Regions from separate parts of the Homo sapiens genome. Here region 2 is linked to region 1. The links are contacts of gene promoters, found by promoter capture Hi-C in blood cells and fetal thymus (Javierre and others, 2016). All regions are on one chromosome and are shown on one strand. Each heading gives the region's core, a stretch centred on a gene start or on the middle of the fragment in contact. The rest is flanking DNA. Distances are from core to core; before and after follow the strand shown. Region 1 holds the start of TIGD6 (tigger transposable element derived 6). Region 2 overlaps PDGFRB (platelet derived growth factor receptor beta).

What was found. Contacts are between HindIII fragments. The CHiCAGO score rates a contact against its expected background, and 5 or more counts as called.
Region 2: a contact is called between a fragment that was not itself captured here and the fragment with the promoter of TIGD6 in region 1, in 5 of 17 cell types (megakaryocytes, endothelial precursors, M2 macrophages and 2 more). The highest score is 11.9, in megakaryocytes.

What each region holds. Positions count from the first base shown.
Region 1 is chr5:149,998,812-150,003,599 of GRCh38, forward strand. TIGD6 (tigger transposable element derived 6) reads right to left here and starts at 1,843. Exons shown (of 2, transcript NM_030953.4): 1 at 1,663-1,843. It overlaps HMGXB3 (HMG-box containing 3), which reads left to right and starts at 1,928. Exons shown (of 20, transcript NM_014983.3): 1 at 1,928-2,368. RefSeq lists enhancers at 1,067-1,855, 2,743-2,822 and a silencer at 1,583-1,662. The HindIII fragment of the contact is 5,274 bases long and covers 1-3,454 here.
Region 2 is chr5:150,122,842-150,127,629 of GRCh38, forward strand. PDGFRB (platelet derived growth factor receptor beta) reads right to left here. Exons shown (of 23, transcript NM_002609.4): 11 at 3,679-3,773; 12 at 2,604-2,736; 13 at 1,886-1,990; 14 at 1,409-1,519; 15 at 201-360. Among named protein-coding and RNA genes, the nearest start is that of PDGFRB, 31 kb to the right of the region's middle. The HindIII fragment of the contact is 2,452 bases long and covers 692-3,143 here.

The DNA.
Region 1 (4,788 bases), core at 593-3,092:
GAATGGAGCATAGTGCCCACCTTTGAGGAGCCTACCAGGGAAGACAAACACTAGAGCATGTGAAAACTAAATCAGAGGTTACGGAGTACTACTGGAACATAAATGTGCAGATAATCAACTGGAATGGAGCATGGATGGGCAGTGCACTTCAAAGAGGGAATAATATGGTGGGCCTTAAAGAATAAACAAATAGGAACTCATGAGATGAAAGGAAATATTTAACATGAAAGGCAATGAAATACTATATAGGAAATAGAATGTCCTGGTCAGGAACAAAAAATTCTTTGGAGAAGAAAGCAAGGACCAAATCACAGGAAGTCCTAGTCAGGTTTCTAGCTTGCTTTGGGGGCATTAAGAGGCTTTTGACGGTTTTTTGGTTTTGTTTTTCTGGAATGACATGATCAGATTTACAATATAGTCTTTTGGTTGCAGGGTAGAGAACCTAATGGGTAAAGTTGATTTTCCTAAGAGATGGCCTTAAATCTGAAGATAAAAGCAGGCTAAACCAGTAGGCCATATACAGTTTGGATGTTAATTTGAGTGCAATAGGAAGCTATTGAAGGATTTTAAGGAAGGAGAGATGACTGCTGTGTAAAGAATGGAAGGGTATCAGAGAAAAAAGCAGGAGTCCACATGAGATAATGGTGGCTTGGATTAGAGTAGTAATAGAGAGATGGTGAGTAGTAGTCAGTCTGGGGCTATGTTTTTGCAAGCCCTGTGCTGGACCGGATGTGAGGTGAAGGAGGAGTCAAGGATAACGCCCAGGTTTCTGGTTTGAGCACTGAGGAATCCAGCAGATGATGGTGCCATTTACTGAGGTGGGAGGATCTACTGCGTAAACCTCATTTGTTAAGCACTTTACTTGCTTAATATTGCTTACTTGTGGCAGGGCTGGGATTCAAACCCAGGAGGCTCACAACAAAGCTAGCACTCCAAACACTACAGAGTGCTATATAGCTGGTTCTGGGAACTACTAATATTGAGAGGAGACATAGAAAGAGAATGAAGCAAGAGCCAAATCAGACAAGTCTTGGTCAAGCTAAGACGTCTGAATTTTATTTTAAGTGAATGAGACACTGGAGGGTTTTAAGCAGGGAGTGACTTGATCAGACTTACAGTGCAAAATGATCAATCTGACTGCTTCGTGGAGAATGGATTGTAGAGGGGATGTGGGGAGAACTACATCAGTCCAGGCAGGAGATGATGGTGGCTAGAAGGTTGGTGATGGCGGTAGATGCAGAGAAGTAGGCAGACTGGAATACAGTGAGGGTTGTGCGGGAACTTGTACAAATGTGGACAACTTGTGACACTGGAGAGAAAGGACAATCCAATCCAATCCCTATTTGATTTACGGAAGCTCTCCATACGGTCATTCAGCTCAGCTTGAGTCACTCCAGGAACTCACTACCATCACTATTCGTGGGCCAGTGGGAGAGACGGATTGAGGGCAGATCACTGGAGTGATGAAGGCGCTACTTGATGCGGCACTACGTATGAACCCGATCCTGAATGAGAGGGAAAGACTGAGACAGGCTGAGGTCAGGCCTTGAACGTCGTGCTGAGGAGAGGGTGGTATTGTAGGCTTCCCAGCGCCCGACGTGGCTCTGAAAGGTGAGGCGGGGCCTAGATCCCTCACGCTCAGCACAGCCCCGCCCCTGTTACCTGAACGCCCCACAGCAGTGCCCGGGGGCTGAGCGGCCGGGGCGTCCCACCGCCGGCAGCCACAGCTTCCTCCTCCGCCCGGGACCTCTGGCCGGAAGCAGTCCGTTCGCCTTACTAGACCCGCTCCAAGCCTTTGAGCAGTTCGTGTGGGTCCGCTCCCAAGCTAGGGCTGGGCTGTTGCGCTTGCGCCAGGGGTCGCATGCAGTCACGCGCTGCCGACCGCTTCCGGTGCGCCGCGAGGGCCGCCGGGACGGGTCTCCCTGGCGATCCGTGGTGTGCCGCTACTGCCGGTGCAGCCGCCAAACCGGTGCCTCGGTGACGACCGTGTCCCTGCCGTCTTCCTCGAGCTCCCCGGGGCTTGACCCCCGGGGCCCTCGGCAGGCATCGGTGAGGAGCCTGCGGAGCGAACCTGTGCTCCTATTCTTGCCCTTCAGGACCCCATATCGCGACTCCGAGGAGGGGAAGCGAGAGGGGCTGTCGCGACTCCGCGCCGTGTGTCGCCGGGCGGGGCCGCGGGGCCGGGGCTCCTTCAGCCCCCGGGATGCGCGCGCGAGCCCTCGCCTCCACTTCCTTGTTGCTGCTGTCACGACTGGAGCCGCCTCTCGCCGACAGCGGGGAGCGCGAGTGCGCCAGCCATCCCCCTCGTCCAGCCGCCGGGCCAAGCGCCTCCGGGAATGTGAGCGGCGCAGCTTGCACGCTCCTCCGGGTAAGTCCCGCCTTCGAGGGCCGCGCCGAGCCGCTGGGCGACCTCGAGTTGGATGCTGCGGCTCTCTGAGCCTCTACTGAGTCTTCCACAAAGTAGGGCCACTGAGCCTTAGTGTCCTCCTTCCGCAATCCGTATGGGACATTCGGATGTCCCAGACGTCTTAGCTTGACCAAGACTTTGTCTGGTTTGGCTCTTGCTTCATTCATGACCCAGAATGAGGGAAAGGAGCTAGCCCAGAGTCAAACTGTGGCCCATGGCTGAGCCCTCAAAGGCAATCTCGTGAGATTCCAAGGAGGATCTGATGGGACAGAGAAAGTGTCTCGCATATTTCAGGTATTGACCTTAACTCTGTTTTACAGATGAAATAACGGAGACTTAGGGTAAGTAGATTGCTTAAGGTCAGAGGTCCCCGTGCTGGTGCGACTGGTGTAGTCTGTACTAGAACCCGGATTTTCTGTCCTCTAGAGCCCTTCGTTTTTAACCTTAAATTGTCCTGCCTTTTTTTGCATTGCTATACTGCTGCCTCGAGTCTGATAACAAACTTGTACTCAGGCTTAGAACAGGGTAATAAAACAAACAAAACCGTAGGGTGTTGTCTTCCTGCCCTCAGCCCAAGGTGGCTGTAATGAGTGTTTCCTAACCCGTTTTGCGCAGGGTGCTTAGTACCCTATATGCCATTCATTACAGATGCTCTCCTGCAGTTACTGCCCTTCTCCACAAGGCTTTCAGCCGCCCAGAAGTCAATTCAGGGCAAAAAAGCGCAGTCCCCACGTAGCCTTGATTTGAACTACTGCTTCCCTTATCCTTTACTGGCCTATTGCTTACCCAGCCAAGTTGTAGACTGTGTTCTCTTCCTGGGTTGCACTATGGCAGTTAGAATGTAGGTTTTTGTTTTGTTTTTCTTTGTTAGTTTAGTTTTTGTTTTTAATAGGAAGAGGAATCATTTAGAGATGACAGAGAACTAGGAAGAACCTAAGGAATAATGTGTGCTTTACCTGGGGTATATCCTGAAAATTATAGGTGAAATACAGTGTGTCTGCAATTTCTAGGAGAGGTTTTTTGTTGTTGTAGTTGTTTGTTTTTTTAAGCTTTCGCAACATTGTCAAAAGAATTCTTGCCTCCAAAAGACTAGGAGCCACTGGGTTCATCCTTTTCTCACAGTAGAAACAGTTGAAATTTAGGATGTGGAATAGACTTCTCTGAGATCATAAGGTTAGAGTTTAGGTCTCTTGACTCCACATGCAGTGCTCATTATACCTTATTTGTGGAGTGAGGTCTAAATGAGAGGTGTGTGGGCTTTGTACTGCACGTATCAGTCCCATATTTACCACCACAACTGCCTCTTCCCAGAATTCTAAATTTCCTCCTGACAGATTTTCAGGGGCAACTATGTTATTTCCTCTTGTAAAATTCAAGTGGTTTCTGTGAGCCTTTCTCCCTCCAAGGATTGAGACTTGTGGTAAAAGTCCAATTTAGAACTTGGCTACAAAAAAAACTAACTCTTCTTGAACTGGTTATTAAGTTTTTTATGCCTCTTTTCCTAGACATAAAAGCTGTTAGTAGATTCTCTGTTTTTTAGCCCAGCACCAGAGAGCTGATGTTGGTTGGTCAGATGACTGTTTAGATCTGTGCTGTCTCTAGCTCCTAGCATATGTTGCTATTTCAGTTAATTACAATTGGCCAGGTGTGGTGGTGGCTCATGCCTGTAATCCCAGCACTTTGGGAGGCCAAGGCAGGAGGATTGCTTGAGCCTAGGAGTTTGAGACCAGCTTGGATAATATAATGAGATCTCATCTCTACAAACAATTTAAAAATTTGCCAGACTTGGTGGTGCACATGTGTAGTCCCAGCTACTTGGGAGGCCAAGGTGGGAAGATCACTTGAGCCTGGGAGGTGGAGACTGCAGTGAGACAGGATCTCATCACTGCACTGCAGCCCAGGGGACAGAGTGAGACCTTGTCTTAAAAATAAATAAATTTAAAAATAAAACTAATTCAATTCTTCAGTCACACTAGCCATATTTCAAGTGCTCGATAGCCATATGTGGCTGGTGGCTACTATATTTGACAGCACAGATGTAGAACATTTCCATCATCAGAGTTTATTGAACAGTGCTGGTTTGGAGGGTTGCCAGTAGAGATGGATAGCAGTGTAGCATAATGAAAGAAGGCCCAGGGAGTTGGATTTTTGAGTTAAAAATCTATCTCTCAAGTCCCTGCTTGGGCTTGGTGGCCTTGGGAAGGTTGTTAAGCATCTCAGACACAGATAATAGTCTTTAACAGAGGCTAGATGTGGTGGCTCACGCTTGTAATTACAGCACTTTGGGAGGCTGAGGTAAGAGGATCGCTTGAGCCCAGGAGTTCAAGACCAGCCTGGACAACATAGCGAGATTTCATCTCTATTATTATTTTTTAAATTAT
Region 2 (4,788 bases), core at 668-3,167, 120 kb after region 1:
GGGCTTAGCAGCACAGGGCCTGGCATTAGTGTTATTCCCTCATCTGGGGTGGACCATCTTGTGGAACAGCCCTAGCTCCAGGAGTGATTCTGTCCCCTGCCCTGTCACAGCCTCAGCTTCCCCTCCTGGACAAAAGGAGGGGAAGGAGCGGTGCTCCTCAGGTATCCCAAAGATTCAGTCCCTGGCCTCCCTCCTGGTACCTGGGCAGGGGGAGCCCAACGGGCAGAGCATTGCTGTAGAGCTCCGCGCTGGGCGGGCGGCGCTTGTCGGAGTGGTGCTGCAGGAAGGTGTGTTTGTTGCGGTGCAGGTAGTCCACCAGGTCTCCGTAGCGGCAGTACTCAGTGATGATATAGATGGGTCCTGCAGAGGGACAGGCTCAGGGACAGTCCCTATGGAGGCCTCAGGCGTCCCTTCAAGGCCATGAGGCTAATCAGGGGCTGGATGTGGGAGAGACACTTTGGCATGACGGCTAGGAGGCTTTAGTGCCTTGCAAATCTGGATTCTTTTCCTGCCTCTGTGGTGGAGAGCAAGGTACTTAGTCTCCCTGAGCCTTACCTTCCCCAGCTGTTAAGTGGGGCTAATTAAACCCACCACAAAGCACTGTCATGAGGATTAATGAGATGATGTCTTTATTGGCTGGGCACGTGGCGAGCTCGCAGTGTTGGCTCTTATTGATATGTTTTCAAACTAAAGCTTACTTTGGAGCCCAGTATAGAAAGCAGATAAAGGCCACTGTTTACAACGATCACTTTAGTAGTTAAATTCAACTACAATGCATTTACTTAAAGTCAATCAGTGAGAACTTGAAGATATCTACACAAACGAAAATGTTGAAATGAGCGATCATTGCAAACGTGAATAAGTCTATGTACCCAACATACTTCTGTATTTTATTTTGGTTGCATAATGCTGAGGAAAATCCCAAATCTCACAATAAGCAGCTGCAAATGGTGATAACATTTTTTTTCAGCCTAACTGGCAATCAGAGCTTCAAATAGACCCAGTTGGCCACAGAGACTTTCTTCTATGATCAAATGAAGGTAGCTCCCAAGTAGCAAGCTGGTGGTCTCCAATGGTGGGCATATAACTCATCTTAATGTCATGTGAGCTGTTATTTATTGGTTTTCAAAATGTATTGGGAAAATAAAAAAGTGTCAGCCAACACCATGGTCTGGAAGCTGCTGGGACTGGTGACCTGACTAATCCTTCAGCCTTGAAGGTGTTGTGATTTTGTGAGTTTCTAAACCCCACCGCCCTCTGGGACCGCGCAGTGAGGGCGCTGGAGCGGGTGGGCACGGACCCTCCAGCAGGAGTGTGCTGTTGTGCAAGGCCTGAGGGGGGGGTAGGCGGGGCCTGGCCTTGGTGGTGGGCACTTTCCCTGAGGCCTCTGGGGCAGTGGGCTCGGTACCTCCTTTGGTGCAGGCCCCCAACAGGTTGACCACGTTCAGGTGGGGCCCAAGGTGACTCATGATCTTCAGCTCCGACATAAGGGCTTGCTTCTCACTGCTGCGGGCTGTGGCTGAGGAAAATGGGGGCCCCAGGCCAGGCCCAGTCATGGAGGCTCCATGGAGGCCCCACCACAGGAGCCTATTCTGACTCTTCTGCCCCGCCCTGTGCTGCAAGACCCAGGCAGCCTGGCGGGGGTGAGCACCCACACTCTGAGGAGGGGAAGAGGCCAGGGTAGGGGGAAGCAGGCCGAGGAGGCCAGGGAGAGGAACGCTCTTTCCCAAACCAGACCCAGACTCGGGAGCAGTGCCTGCTGCAGTGTGATGGCCCCTCTAGTGCCTGCAAATCAGCATCAGGCCACCCTGGGAGAGGCTAAGTGTGTGGGGAGGGGCAGGGAGAGGTGAAGGCCCAGATGTGGAGGGCTCCAAGGACTACTCACATTTAAGCATCTTGACGGCCACTTTCATCGTGGCCTGAGAATGGCTCAGGCCATGAGCCGTGGCCTCCACCACCTGCCCAAAGGCCCCAGAGCCGAGGGTGCGTCCTGGTGCAGAGATGATCCATTAGCTCCTGGCCTACCAGGAAGCTGCACCGCTCCCCCAGCTGCCCCCCTCCCCCCACTCCCCTACCCCCGGCCGCTATCACCCTTCCTGCCCAGTGAGGGGAAAGAGCCACTCTCTTAGGTCAACCTAGACATTACTTAAACCACCTTGGACTCAGGATATTCCCTAAACACACTCCTGCAACCACAATACCTCCCTGTCTTTCCTGGTATCTCATCTAAGTCCTGCCTGCTTTCTGCCCCATCTTTAATCTCTGGAAAGTTTCTTCCCTCCCAAGGGAGCACGCTTCTCTGTACCTCCTCAGCTTCCCCAGCCAGACCAGGCCTGCTACTCAGCCTGTCCTCAATCCTTCCACTTTTGCCACATAGGGATCCCGTCTCACAGGGTCACAGGATCATAGAACCTCAATGCTAGGCAGTTCCTGGGGGATGGTCTTGCTCTCATTGTACATAGTAGGAGATGGAGGGCCAGAGAAGGCAAGACACCAGCCCTAGGTCTCATAGCTAGTCATGGCAAGGCTGGGACCAGACCTCAGAGAGTCTTCCCACCCAACTTGAGTCCCCACACTGCCACATGAGGCCTCTCAGGACTGACCCAGCACAAGCTGGTCCCGCGGCAGCTCCCACGTGGAGTCATAGGGCAGCTGCATGGGGTCCACGTAGATGTACTCATGGCCGTCAGAGCTCACAGACTCAATCACCTTCCATCGGATCTCGTAACGTGGCTTCTGGAGGACCAACCCCAGGAATTAGTTATCAGAGGGAGTCTCAGGCCCTGAGCCCCATTAGGTTCGTCCGTCTAGGACACATGGGGCAGGAGACCCTGAGGCCCAGAGAGGGGCAGGGGCATATTTGAAGTCACACAGCAAGTGCTCAACTGAGCCAAGGTCTTCGTGGGCTCGGAGGGAACAGGGACCAAGGGGCCCCAGAGGAGGCTTCAGGACTTGGCAGACTGAGGAGCAACTGGCAGCTGAGGGCCTGGCTCATGAGAACCTCCTCTCTAGCTTCTCTCCCAGCCTTCGCTGCTCCTCAGATGGAAGTAGTAGAGCAGGTGACCCCAGAAAGTGACACCAGGTAGGGTACTCGGCTGGATGCGGATGGCCCTCCCCAGTGCTGGGCAAGTCAGAAAGATGTAAGCTTAGAATGTTGACATCTTAAGGTGTTGGAACCACAGGACTGGAATTTTAGAAAGATGGGATCATGAGGTGCTGTAATCCTGATTCAGGAAGCTTAAAATGTTGGAATCACAGAATGGTAAAATCTCAAAGCAGAACACTGAAATTACAGACTAATAGGATCAGAATGCATTTCAGTAGAATCACAGGTTCTCCATGGGTGAGACCTGGAAGAATCCTGGAGCCCATGCAGTCCACCTCAAAGGTCCCATGCTCCATGGCTAGGATGAGAGGAATGGTGTCTCAGCAGGACCCGGGGACTTAATGACACAGTAGGGGAAGGGAATCCTGGATAGCTCGGGCCAGGCTCAGGTTGGCCCAGACTGCTGGGGGTGGAGGAAGCTGAGACAGCCAGCGTCACAAGTCCCCACCTGAGTTCCATGCTGAGCCCTGCATGTGGCCAGATCACGCAGCATTCAAGGAGGGCAGAGGGGTGGAATTTATGCAAAATAATGATGTGCCAGTCTTCACCCACTGGGCCAGGGAGGGGCTTACCTTCTGCCAAAGCATGATGAGGATGATAAGGGAGATGATGGTGAGCACCACCAGGGCCAGGATGGCTGAGATCACCACCACCTTAAAGGGCAAGGCTGGAGGCAGAGATGAGAGCAGGCCATGAGCAAACTGGGCAGCTACCCTCCCCTCACCCCATCTTTGGCATCATAGATCCCTCCGTACACATCCTGTCCAGAATAGAAGCGCCCACCTCCCCATCAGCCTGCAGTGTCAGACCCTCAGCATCTCGCTCTAGGCCACACGTTCAGACTGTCCTGTAAATACTCCATCCCCTCAGTAACTACCCCCACTCAGATCACTGCTGGCCTCCACGTCCCTTCAGCCCTGCCAGTCAGTCTGGCCTTGCTGCCAGAGCTCTGGACGGGGTGCAAATCCTGTTCTGAGTTCCTGTCCATTGCCTGGACCTCCCATTAGCCCTGGAGCCCCTGAGGGCTGGGTTGTGGCTTACCTCTCCTCTGAGTCCACACCCTTGCTGGGGCTGCCACAGCTCGGTCAGACTCCAAGCTCCATGCCTGACCGAGTGGCCGGTGGACTGAGTGAGTGGCCACTGAGGGAGCAATGGCTGAGACCCCCAGCCTGATGAATCCAGACCTCAGCACGGAGGCCACTTCTCCCCACTTCACCCAAAGGGCCCAGTTGGGGTTGGAGTGGTGACGGTAGTTAACAAAGTGGGGCTCACACTGGCCCTTACAAGCCTCGAGTCTCCTCCACCCTCAAGGCCTCAGCCTCTTCGCTGTACAGCTTCCCACTCTCCTCATCCAGCCCCGCCAGACCTGCCTCTCCCCTGCCCTGCCCTGCTGGCCACCCATGAGGTCCTATGGAACTCATTCCCTCCTCTTCTGTCCCCAATCTATGCTTCTTTGCTCCCTAGGGAGTCCTGTCCCACCTCCTCCTCCCCATCCATTGCTATAACCTCAGTCCCTAAAACCACACCTGGCACATGGTAGGTAGCTGGTACTATTTGTTGAATTACTAAGTGAATGCCATTGTTATGCTTAAAATCTTTGGATGGAGGCTGGGTGCAGTGGCTCATGCCTGTAATCCCAGCACTTTGGGAGGCCAAGGTGGGCGGATCACGAGGTCAGGAGT